Regions from separate parts of the Homo sapiens genome. Here region 1 is linked to region 2. The links are contacts of gene promoters, found by promoter capture Hi-C in human tissues and cell types (Jung and others, 2019). All regions are on one chromosome and are shown on one strand. The core of a region is centred on a gene start or on the middle of the fragment in contact, and the rest is flanking DNA. Distances in the headings are between cores, read along the strand shown. Region 1 overlaps CRMP1 (collapsin response mediator protein 1). Region 2 holds the start of CRMP1 (collapsin response mediator protein 1).

Region 1 (6,270 bases), core at 2,502-5,001, 42 kb after region 2:
TAAGCTCTTTCTATCAAGAAGGCATTATTGGCCATGGTGGCTCATGCCTGTAATCCTAGCACTTCGGGAGGCTGAGGAGGGAGGATTGCTTGAGGCCTGGAGTTTGAGACCAGCCTGGGCAACATAGTGAGACCACGACTCTATTAAAAAAAAAAAAAAAAAAAAAAAAACATAGCCAGGAGTGGTGGTGTACGCCTCCCAGCTACTTGGGAGGCTGAGCAGGAGCATTGCTTGAGTTTGGGAGGTTGAGGCTGGAGTGAGCACTGCACTCCAGCCTGGCTCATAGAGTGAGACCCTATCTTTTAAAAGAAAAAGGCATTATCCTTGTATTGCAGTTGCTGCGTGATTCACTGCAACTACATAACAGAGTCATAATCCAAGGAAATTGACAGTCTTGTATCTTACTTTCCTTACCTAATGTTAAGTTCTGAGCAATTTTCCCCAGGTTGCCGCCTTAAGCAAATGGTCGTTTAGGACGCCCCTCACTGAGATGGGAGGGTCTCTGGAGTGGCAGTGGAGTTTGTAGGGAAAGACACTGGGCTCCGTGAGGCCTAGTGGGTCTGTGCTGCCTGCAGGCATCCAGGGAGCCCTGTGCTGTGCGCATCTGGGCTGGGTCACCAGCAGGCGAATGGCGATGGTGCTCAGGTCCTGGCAGCAACCTTTCAACTTTGTATGCTTCTATGAAATCAACTTTTTAGATTCCACATATAAGTGAGATGCTGCAGTGTTTGCCTTTCTGTGCCTGACTTATTTCCCTTAACATAGGGTTCCACAGCTTCAACTTTGTTGCTGCAAATGACACGATGTCCTTCTTTACTAAGGCATCCATTGTGTATGTTTACCACATTTATAAAATCCATTCATTCATTGATGGACACAGGTTGCTTCCTAATCTTGGCTGTTATAAACAATGCCTCAATGAACACGGGAGTGGGGATATCCCCTGGGTATTCTGATTTCAATTCCTTTGGATTTTCAGCCGGTAGTGGGACTGCTGAAGCATATGGTAATTCAGTTCTTAGTTTTGTGAGGAGCCTCCGTACTGTTCCCCATAGAGGTGGCTGTGCTAATTTACATTCCCACAAACGGTGCTCAGGAATTGCCTTTTCTCCACATCCTCATCAACACTTGCTATCTCTTAGATGCAGCTCTTTCTTTCTTTCCTTCTGATGGAGTCTTACTCTGTCACCCAGGCTGGAGTGCAATGGCGAGATCTCAGCTCACTGCCTCCCAGGTTAAAGTGATTCTTCCCCCTCAGCCTCCCAAGTAGCTTGGATTACAGGCACCTGCCACCACACCCGGCTAATTTTTGTATTTTTAGTAGAGACGGGGTATCACCATATTGGCCAGGCTGGTCCTGAACTCTTGACCTCAGGTGATCCACCTGCCTTGGCCTCCCAAATTGCTGGGATTACAGGCGTGAGCCACTGCTCCCACCTGTGTTTTTATTTTCTAATCAGCTTAAATGCTCTCAGCAATTCCACATTATCCCCAGAATAAATTGCAAGCTGTCTGCCTGGCTCATCAGGATGCGCCTGCTCCTCCAGACTGGCTTGTTCCAGTTCCTGGGGCCCAGAGCCCCAGCCCCCTGCACCTCCGTTTCCCATCTGCTCGAGGCTGCCTCTGGCTCTTGGGGCTGTGTGAGTGAGTACTGGCCCCTTCAGGAACAGTCTCCCTGCCTTTTCCTAGCGATTCTCCTGTTCGTGCTGAGCTGTACTCCCCTGGGAAGCCTTCCCTGAAGCCCCCTGACAGATGCAACCCCCCCATGCATCCCCCACATAGGGATCATCAGACTAAGTTGTCTTTGCCCATTGACTTGCTGATACTCCCACACCCCAGCCCAGATGGCGAGCCCCCTACGGGCAGGGACTTGTCGTCTTACTCACAGTTGCATGGCTGGGACCTGCACAGAGAGTTGCATCCAATATCAGTGGACCAGCTGATTGATTTCATGAAAGATGCCTTTAGTAACTTCTGTATCTCAAGTGCTTAGCACATGCCCAGCATACAGCAGGCTCTCAGTAAGTGTTTGTAACATGAATAAATAAGTTAGGAAAGGAAAAGAGGAGAGAAGCAGGGAGGGAGGGAAGAAAGGGAGGAGGAACACGCCTGGTTTCCTTGGTCCTGAAGCATTTTAGTGCGTCCTTCTCTAAGTCAGAAGGGCTTGCCCAGAAATCTTGCTATTTGTCATGAGTGTACTGTGCAGTCCAGTGCAGGGCATTTCCAGGATGGGAAACCAACACGTTTGGTGTAATGTCCTCTTTGCAGAAATGGGGAAAGTGAAACCCAGAGAGGTGCAGTAACGTCTCAAGTGCCACACAGCAACTGAGGCCTGAACTCAGCTCTCCCTGACGGAGCAGCTGTCACTGTTGATGTCTTTATGGGAATTGCAAACACAATTCTTTAAAGAAATGGGATAAAAAAGCACATGCTTTAGGACACTTTCTAGAAGCTGCATGACTAATGTCTTTTCATCTTCCGTATTGCAGATGCTCATCACACCCTTCCTTATCCTTACCACACCCCTCCCTCTCAGCCTGGGGAGTTTTCCTCCTCCTCCTCGTCCTCTTTCTCCTCCTCTTCCTCTTCCTCCTCCTCTTCCTCTTCCTCCTTCTTCTCCCTTTCTCCTCCTCTTCCTCCTCTTCCTCTTCTCCTTCTCTTTCTCCTTTTTCTTCCTCCTCCTCTTCCTCTTCCTCTTCCTCCTCCTGCTCCTCTTCCTCCTCCTCCTCCCCTTCTCCTTCTTTCTCCTCCTCTTCTTTTTCCTCCTCTTCCTCTTCCTCCTTGTCCTCTTTCTCCTCCTCTTCATCCTCCTCCTTCTCCTCTTCCTCCTCCTCCTCTTTCTCCTTCTCCTCCCCTTCCTCCTCCTTCTCCTCCCTTTCTCCTCCATCACCTTCAGATTCTGCTTAGGTGTGACCTTCCCTGGAAGCTTCCTTTGACCTTCGCCCACATCCTCAGGCTGGATAGGTGCCCCACTGGGGATCCCAATGGCACTCATCTCTCCTGGCGACTACCACTCTGCTCTGTGGTCATTGATTTATTGGAAAGACATGCTTCTGTTTTTTCTTAAACATATTTTTCTATCCTTTCTATCTTGAAACAGGCGTCAATTCCTTCCAAGTCTACATGGCCTATAAGGATGTCTACCAAATGTCCGACAGCCAGGTAGGTCCCTCACACTCACTCTCTCCTCTCTTGTCTGGGCAGGACTGGGCCAGCTTTGCCAGTCCAGGCAGCACAGGGCAAGGGAGATTGTGAGAAGCCGTGGGATTCGAGTCCTGGTTCTGGCATGGAATGGCTGTGTGATACGGTGTCAGTCATTGCCCCAGCTGGGCTTCTGTTCTTTTCTGACTGTGTGAGTGGCATGCAGAAGGGGTTCCCTGGTTTGGTGGCTCCCAAATCTGGCTTATCCTCAGCATCATCTGGAGAGCTCACTTGAAATACAGATTCTTAGTGCATGTTCCAGATGTTGGGTGTTGGACTCAGGAGCCTGTACTTCCCGAAAGCTCTGCGTTTGATCCTGGTATTCAGGCAAGGATGGGGACCATTTATGAGCTCTGACACAGGAAGAGAGACTGCCTGGCCTTCCCTCACAGCAACTGCAACATGCTGGGCAAGTCATCTCCTCACATTTGTAAGATGGAACATTTCTGGCCCTGCCAACAGCAAACAATTATTATGTACATGCACCAAGTCAAGGGATATGGAGCCGCAAGTTGTTCTTCAGGAGGAGTGGTTACGACTTACAGGACACCTGGCCTTCTTATACTACTGGGTCTCCTAGTTTTGTTTCATTGTCAGTTTCCCTTGCTCTGCTTGTTAGTGTGGTGGAGAAAATCATGGAGGCTACAGCCAAGCCAGGTGCTTGCTCTGCAGCCAGGGGCAGCTTTCCCAACTTCTCTGTGCTTTAGGCTCATGATAGCCCTACCTTATAGAGGCAGTTGAATGATTTCATAAGAAGAGTAAAGTGCTAGGATGGTGCCTAGCAGAGAATGGTGCCATACAGGCATCAGTTAGCAGGGTAATTGGTTATTACCATGAAGATAGATGGGCAACGGGAGAAGCACTTTATGTCCTTCCTTTCAGATAAACACTTGGGGTTACAGAAAATAACTTATCCCAAGATGTCCTGGAGGCCTTTGATACAGTCAACAAAAGACACTCAAAGAGCTGAAAATTGGTTCAGTTACATAGAAAACATAGCATGTGATGTGCTGGCATAATTGTGATTTTCACCTGTTTCATTCTAACTACTGGAGCCATGGGCATGGATGGAATCGAGCAGCCTCTGCGTGCAGGTTCTCAAAAGTGCTTCATGCCTCCACATGCCTTCCCTATTTGCTGAAATAGGGATGTCTGTCGGAAAGCAGACATCCGAGGGGATGTTGTCTTGCATGCATGGAGAACAAAGTTGAGGTTCAAGTGTCCCTGGAGAGGGAGCTTCGTGGCTTTGGCCCTTACCAGGGGCAATGCCCAAATGCAGATTCTCCTCAGGTAGGAAGAGAACACTGGGCAGTGGGGAGGGCCTGTTTTGTCTAATTGAGAGGATGGTTGGCATGCTATATATTTTCTGAGTATTGGAGTTATTAGAGAGCTGGTTTCCCCCACCCCACCATTGTCCATAAAATGGCATGGGTTCATATTTTTGTAAGGATGCACACATATTCTGTGGCATGTAGGTGGCTATGGTACAGGCTTAGCAGATTTAGTTAGATAATTTCTGTAAAACTAACAGTGACTTCTCAGGACCAGTTGCTGCCATTAACACCTACAGGTGTTTCAAAAAAGCCAACCCAAAAAGACAGCAAAAGGCATAGATAGGCACTGAGATTGAGTCTGTCTTCATGCCCTGGGGTGACTTGGACCAGTTGTGCCCCATCCTCAGCTTCCTGCTTTTGGGTCTGCAAGATGTCAGGGTCAAGGAATGATCCTTCCAAGTCTGACTTGTGTAGCAGCGTATTCCATCCACATGAATGTGTTTGCAGAGGCTGGCAGGTGAATGACCGAATGGGTGTGATCGGAACGGTCTTCATGAATGCACACGCTGTGATTTTTTTTTTTTTTTAAATCTCACACCAACCCCTGTTTATCTCTCCATAGCTCTATGAAGCCTTTACCTTCCTTAAGGGCCTGGGAGCTGTGATCTTGGTCCATGCAGAAAATGGAGATTTGATAGCTCAGGTGAGTGGCAAGAATTTCCACTCCTTCTACCTCAGTCTGATTCTCCTTGTTGCAAAAGGTTTGATAAAAGAGCATTGGTTAGTGAGGAGGCTGTACAATGAAAGGTCAAGCCAGGAACTGGGTGTCATATCAGACACATCAGATATGAATGAAAATGCTTTGCAAACCTAGGTCATACCAGTGGCAATGCACATGGAAGCTGGTGTTCCTCATTGTCTTCAGGAATTGGGAGTGGGCATCATGGAAAAGCCCAGGCTTGGAGGAGGTGTTCCATGCCAGTCTCCTCCATCTCCTAGCCATGTGACCTTGGGCAAGGAACTTTTTCCCATGAACACTCTTATTTTTCTTCCAGAAACAACCACCTGGCAGTGTTATTGTGTGGATCAAATGATATTATGTGCCATGGCTTGAATGTGTCCTTCAAAAGTTCATATGTTGAAAACTTAATGCACAAGCTAGTATGTTGATGGTATTTGGAGGTGAGGCCTTAGGGAGGTAATTTGGATTAGATGAGATCATCAGGGTGGGGGCCTTATGACGGGATTAGTGGCTTTATAAGGAGAAGAAGAGAGGCCTGAGCTGGCATGCACCTGCTGTCTCATGTGATGCCCACCGCCATGCTATGATGCAGCAAGAAGGCCCTCACCAGATGCTGGCACCTTGTTATTAGATTTCCCAGCCTCCAGAACCATGGGAAATACACTTATTTTCTGTAAAATTACCAAGTCTATGGTATTCTGTAATAGCATCAGAAAACAGAGTAAGACATCGTGTATGTGAGGTTCAGAATCTGACACATAATGGACTGCAGCCATGCAAAAGTTTTGGATAAAATGAGACATGAACATATTTTGATAATTCTAGCTGTGGAGTGGAGAATTTGTTGGGAAAAGAATGAAAGCTGGGAGTTGTGGCTCACGCCTGTAATACCAGCACTTTGAGAGGCCGAGGTGGGCTGATCACTTGAGGCCAAGAGTGTGAGACCAGCCTGGCCAACATGGCAAAACCCCATCTCTACTAAAAAATACAAAAATTAGCTGGGTGTGGTGGAGCACACCTGTAATCCCAGCTATTACAGGTGGGAATACAGGT
Region 2 (6,495 bases), core at 3,795-6,294:
AAATCACATGAAAGCTGTGAAGCACAGACATCAGTTTAGAAATTGTGTACTTTCCCGCTGAATCCCAAATGCACAATAACTGTACACCTTGCGGTTGCATGAATCTACAAGGTCTCCTATGCGCCCTCATTCATAAACTCAAGGCTGAGAATGTTGGCAGGCCAAGTCCTGCCCCTCCCCGGAGTGAGCTGCCTTGGTTCACACGGGAGTGGTCCAGCGACAGGACCCGACACCTCCCCTCCGGAAGCTCTTCAGCAGGACCTGCCTCGGGTCCTGGGGCAGCTATCCTCCGGGGCCTGCCTGCAGTGAAACCATCAGTCCGTGGAGATGTTCACTGGATTCCTGACCAGTTGTGGGTCGGGCTCAACCCTCCCTCTGGGTTTTCAGGATTTGTAATGATCGCTCCATTTGTGTAAAATAGGCCGGCATTTTCTCTTGTTACTGAGATGTATTTTTCTATGTGAGTTAAATGTATAATTTGTGTAATTTTGTACATTAAAATGTATGCTTTTTCACAATTAAAGGGTTTTTTTCCCTTCTGAATGTTTTATTTATTGATGGTTTGTTACAAAGTGTTGTCGACCCTGACGTAACAGAAAAAGGCAATGGAGCTAGGATTCCCTTGATTTTTGGTGGGGAATAAATGCTTTTCTTGGTACTCAAATCCACTTTGCACAAATAATTAAATGATTTCCTTTATAATCATGTAGTGATTTCTGATTGCTGCTTTGACAGATGACCATGAACCCATTGCCTTAGAACAACTCACATTCATTATCTTGTAGTTCTGAAAGTCAGAGTCCCTGGGCTACAACCGAGATGTTGGCAGGGCTGCCTTCCTTCTGGAGGCTCCAGGGAGAAAGTGTTTCCTTGCCTTTTCTGGCTCCTGGAGTTGCCCACATTCTTTGGCTTGTGGCCCCTTCCTTCCTCTTCAAATCTCTCTCACTCTGACCTCTGCTTCTGTTCTCTGATCTCCCGTTCTCAGACTCCGACTTTCCTGCCTCTCTCTCACTTAAAAGGACTCTTGTGATGACACTGGCTCCACCAGGTGATCCAGGATCATCTCCACATCTTAAGATCTGTAAGCAGAGCCACAGAGTCCCATTTGCCATGTGGAGTAACATGGGCAGTAGTTCTAGGGATTCAGGTGTGGGCATCTTTGAGCATCATTATTCTGCCCACCACAGTCCCATATGTACTAATTTGGAGGCCACAGAAAAAAGCAGACATTTAAAAATCAAATGAGCCTGGATTTGAACTGCATCTCTGTCACTTGCTGGCCATGTAACCGAACATGTTTACTTGTTTAACTTCTCTGAACATCTTTTCTTATATCTGAGATGAGGACAATAATCCATTACTATATACCTGATGATAAACTACAATCCCCTTTCCTTCATTTTTTGAAAACATTCTTTTTGCAATGAATGAACGAATTTTTTTTTTTTTTTTGGTTTGCCGAAACAAAATCCACATCGGACCTGAACTGGCCTCTTGTCCTCTCCCATCTGACGTGTCCCTTTCTGTTCTCTGCCATCACCCAGGAAGAAGGTTTCATGTCTGACATGATGAGCTCAAGGTTTGTCCTTCACCAAATGTAGTGCTGTAATTCACTTATAAGAACTCCTTCCCAGGAGGACTAGGAGCAGTTGGAGGATGGGTTGGGGGATGGGGGAGGTCACAGCTGTCGTCAGGATGGGGGCAGTTATCTCAGGCTTCCCCTGCTGCCTCTGTTGGTCCCTGGCAAATATTGCTCCTTTCTGTCTCCGTGCAAGCTGGAGGGTGCATTTCCAACTTTATACCCTGGGTTTTGTTTCCTTCCTCCCTTTCTCTGTTGCGCTTGGGTTACTGACCTTGAGATGAGATGGTGTGGAAAAAACTCAGACAAACCTGAGTTGAAATCCCAGGTTAGTCACTTCCCGGTGGTTAACCTGAGCAATGGGCTTAAGGTTTGTCATCCTCAGCGCTCCAGCCTGAAGATGGAAGTGGCCTGGTTCGCCACGTGGGGCTGCCTGAGGGAGCCAGCAGTGTATAAGGCAGAGCATGATGCACGGAAATGAACTGTGTGTGCAAGGACCCTTATACACAGTATGCAGTTTCAGGAGGGTCCGATCGCCTCCTCTGCATGGGGAGAAAAGAGTGAGAGGAAGTGATATAAAGTCAGTGACACGCAGTGGGCGCCACAAAGGTGTGTTAGATGAATGTCGAATGATTAGTTGCCCAAGACTGCATGCAAAACAGGATTCTAACTCAACCACCTAGACTCTTCTGCCTAAACTAGGTCCCTTTATCTCTTATCTCCCAGTGGGACCACCTCAGTCAGGCTCTTGGGGAGAGGAAAGGGTAGTTGTTTCGATGTGGACTCTGGCACCAGACTACTCTGTTTAAACCTCGAAGTCTTACTTGCCAGCTGTGACCCTGGACAGGTTATTTATGTCTCTGAACCTCAGTTTTCTCATCTGTAAAATGAGGCTAAAATGGCAGTTTCAAGGTTGCTGCGAGGCATAAAAGAGTTACTATCTGTTAGGTGCTTACCATGGTCCGGGCACGTAGTAAACTTTCTATAAGCAGAAGCTATGAAGATCCTTTCCTGCTTCTGCATAAAGACAGCACTTTCTCAGCTCCTTCCTTGCGTCACTCCCTCTAGTCTTGGCAACTGCCCAGCCCTTTCTCACAATGGAAAGGGTTTTCTTTAGAAGCAGTAAGATTTCCATCACCACCAACAAAGCCTGAGAGACTGTGTCCTCAAGATGTTGAGAGCAGATTCAAGCATGCAGTAGGAGGCCTGGCCTCCAAAGTTCCACCTAACTCAGACTTTTGAGTTTTCTGATATTTCTCTGGGTTATGTCACCCTGAACATTTGTGGGGTTTTAGAAGAAATTTCTATGTGGTTTTCGACATGAATTGTTCTTGCCTGGAATGGGCTGGGAATAGTATTTCACAGGACAGAGAAAAATTTTCATTGAAAAATCGAAAACACTTGCAAGATAGCCTGGAGGCTGATGGGCCTCAAGAGGAGTGTCTGTGGCAAATCTGCACAGTGGACCCAGGGACACAAGGAGAGAGGAGCCAGGATGCAGCTGCGGTGGGTGGAAGGTAGATGGAGGCTGTGTGTGGAACTTTCTGTTCTCGCATTCAGCACTCTCTCCCCCATGAGAGTAAACACTTGTTGAAGACAGAGACTTAGAAATACTCATCTGTGTCCCCACACTAGCCTCTCTCTCAAGCACAGAAAAATAACTTGCTAAATGCCCACCGAGTGGATGAGCCCACGCTCTAGGCCTGGCTGAACCTCCTTGAGATTGAGGCCCTGAGGGAGCCATTTCACATCTCCCCTCCTGTTTCCTCTTCCAAGAGGGGGCCGGTAAAAATACCTACCTGCTGCACAGACCCCTTGTTGCAGGGTTGAAAGACAGTAGCTTCAGGGAGGTGTCAGCTGAGGCCACGGATCCGACGGCCCCAGGATCCTCAGTCCATGGGGCCCAAGAGTCATAAAACAAGAACATGAATCCATCTGTCTGTCTGGTATTCCTGGAGCTTGGTCACGCTGCGGGAGCTCTGGCTTGCAGCTGGCAGGGCCCGGGGTTGAAGGGACAGCTCCCAGCATGGAAGGCTATGGGTGGGGGGACATTGCAAGAAGCACTGATGCTCCCCTCTGCAGTCCCCACCCAGTCCTGACTTTGCTTGTCTAGACTGGCTCGAGGAGGGGGTCGGCAGCTGGCGATTCTGCCTCTCCAGGAAGTGCAGCTGGGACTGTAGGGTCCCCAGGGACTTGCAGGATCCTCTGCCTGATAATCGTGGAGAAATAAGGGAAGGTGTCTATAGGAGGCAGGTGGTGCCTGGCCTTAGAGGAGAGCCCCAGCAGAGCGACCTCCACGACAGAGAAACCCCAGAACGCCCAGACTGCAAGCTCCAGGAGCAACAAAAGTGGACTGTGCCCCTCGAATGAGGGAATATCTGTCTGTCTGGTTGACTGCCAGCTGTGTGTGTGTGGTCATCTCTGTCTCTGTGTGTCTTTCTCTGGAGCGTTTTTATTTAAGCTTTTGACTTCCTTTATTACTGGTGTGGACTTGTGTGTGGGCATCCTGTTGCCAGTTTATGATGCACATGTGTGGAATCGCCCTGAGCTTGCCTTTGATATTGGTGTGTTGTGTGGTGTCATTGGCGTGCACGTGTATGTGTGTGTCGCTGATTCTCATGCAAGAATGTGCTTCTCTTATGTGTCTGTCGGAGTGTGCCTCTAGCATGTCCCTCTTGGCTGCTGCACCACCTTTCCTGGCCCTTACCACCTCTTGGCCCACCATATGGGTGCTTTTGTATCCAATTCCCCTCCTTAGCAGGTCAGCTCCTGGAGGGCAGGCACTTGGTCTCTTTTGTCCATGGCTCTGTTCCCAGCTCCTACAACAGTGCTAGGCACTAGTGGGCGCTCAGCAAAATAAAACTGACGGAATGAACGGTGTGTCCAACGCATGTGCCTCTCCAGTTGTGCAATTAATCTTGGTGTGATACTGTGTGTGAGTGGGGTTGTGAGACAATGAGGATTTCTGTTGTGTGTTTGTAATGAACTCGGAATGTGCACAAGCATATATGTGTATGTGTGTGCAACATTGAGTATGGTGTGCATGATCGAGCCCCTGTGTATCTCTGGAGAGCATGTGTGATTGACTCTCGTGTGTGTGCCAGCATGTCTGTGCATCTCTCATGTGTTTGGCGTAATTGTCTGGTGTGCAGGTATGAACCCGCGTGTGCCTCCAGAGCGTGTGGGCGCGCGAGTGTACGCACACGGCTCCTGCCCCGCGCTCTCCTCGCGCCCTGCGCTCCGCCTGGGGGCGGAGAGTGGGGGGTGCGGCGAGGGCACTGCGGTGCCGCGGCCCGCCCTCCGCGCTGCGGCTCGGGAGCGTCACCGTCCCTCCCCGCCCCAGCCGCGATCCCCGCCTCCTGGTCCTTTGTAGCTGGCCGCGCCGCTAGCCCGCAGCCGCCCAGAGGCCCCGCCCCGGCCCCGCCCCGGCGCGCGCCACGCCCCGCCCCTCCCCTCCCTGGGCCGCAGTCGCGCCCGGGCCGCCGCAGGCCCGCACCGAGGCGCGGAGCGCGGCGCACGGCGGTGCCCAGGGCCGCGGGCGGGCAGGCGGGAGCGCGGTGGGTGGCCGGCCTTGGACGGGTATGGCGGACCGGCGGCGCGCGTGGAACACCGAGGACGACCTGCCCGTGTACCTGGCGCGGCCGGGCAGCGCGGCGCAGACCCCGCGCCAGAAGTACGGCGGCATGTTCGCCGCGGTGGAGGGCGCCTACGAGAACAAGACCATCGACTTCGACGCCTACAGTGTGGGCCGCCGCGGCTCGGCGCGCACGCCGCGCAGCGCTGGCCGGCCCGACGCGGTCGGGCTGCCAGGGCCGGGAGGCAGCGAGGACACGGCCAGCGACGTGAGCGAGCCCTCGGGCTCCGCGGTCAGCTCTCCCGGAGAGCGCGACGAGCGGCCGCCGACGCTGCGCATCCGCCGCCCCGCGCCCCGCGACCTGCCCCTCGGCCGGGACAATGGCCAGGTACCCTCGGGGCGCGCGCGGGCCAGACGAGGGGGGCGGGCCCCGGGAGGACCCAGGGCATGGGGCGCCCGAGGGCCATGCCCGGGCCCCGGTGTTGGGGCAGCGGCCGCCAGGCTGGGGAGAGCCACGGCGCGGCCCCTCCCCCACCTCATCATGCAAGAGGTTCCCAGAGCTGGGGCGACTCGGTCGGGGCTGGCCGGCGTGGTCCGTGAGACTCGGAAGGGATCGCCCGGGTCCAGTCCCGGCTCCTCTTCTACAGAAAGGGAGAGAGGTTCTGAGAGGGGAAGTTGGCTAAAGCTACCGCATGGACGCTTAAACGCGAAGGAACCTCTGGGATGAATCTAACCCAGGCCCCTCATTCTGTTTTGTGAAAAGAACTGGAGCTCCGTTCCGTGTTGGTCCATTCATCCATCCACTCAGTCGGTAGTAATTATAGAGCACCTACTGTGTGCCGGGCCCCGGGAGAGGTTCCGCGAGTCGCCTGCGGCCACACAGCTTAAAGCTGGAAGGAGCTTTTTTTCCGAGCGCTCCCCTCATGCTTGCTGGGGGGAAGGATTTGGTTAAGGATTTAGTTCGTCGGGCAGTTGGAGCCGTAAACCCCTACCCTCAAGCGCCAGTAGATTCAAGGGGCACTCCTGAGCTCCACAGCACACACCGATGTGCCTGCTTCACAGAGCAAGGTGGAGGTAGAGCTGGGATTTGAACTGGGGTCTCTGGCCTCCCGGACCTGAGCATGGGGCCGGGAGGATCAGGGAGAGGGAACGCTAGGGCTTGGGCCCTGCGGGTATTCTCTCTTGAGCTGGGGGTCACCAGGAAACTGGGGGAAGAAGGGCGGATGGACGGCGTAGCCTTTGGATGGACCGACGAGAGCCAGGGTCAGGTGCCAGAAAAACGGAAGTTGGAGCATCCGAGGGCTGGGGAGCTTTCGAATTGGTCCAGACCTGGATGCCGGAG

What was found. Contacts are between HindIII fragments. The study calls those that stand out against the background at their distance.
Region 1: a contact is called between a fragment that was not itself captured here and the fragment with the promoter of CRMP1 in region 2, in 4 of the 25 tissues and cell types used here (esophagus, mesendoderm cells, pancreas and 1 more).

Annotation. Positions count from the first base shown.
Region 1 is chr4:5,848,300-5,854,569 of GRCh38, reverse strand. CRMP1 (collapsin response mediator protein 1) reads left to right here. Exons shown (of 14, transcript NM_001014809.3): 5 at 3,101-3,162; 6 at 5,098-5,178. Among named protein-coding and RNA genes, the nearest start is that of CRMP1, 42 kb to the left of the region's middle. The HindIII fragment of the contact is 7,580 bases long and covers 1-6,270 here.
Region 2 is chr4:5,891,635-5,898,129 of GRCh38, reverse strand. It overlaps CRMP1 (collapsin response mediator protein 1), which reads left to right and starts at 5,044. Exons shown (of 14, transcript NM_001014809.3): 1 at 5,044-5,541. The coding sequence starts at 5,161. It also overlaps a transcript of C4orf50 not described here. RefSeq lists an enhancer at 6,439-6,495. The HindIII fragment of the contact is 12,427 bases long and covers 1,835-6,495 here.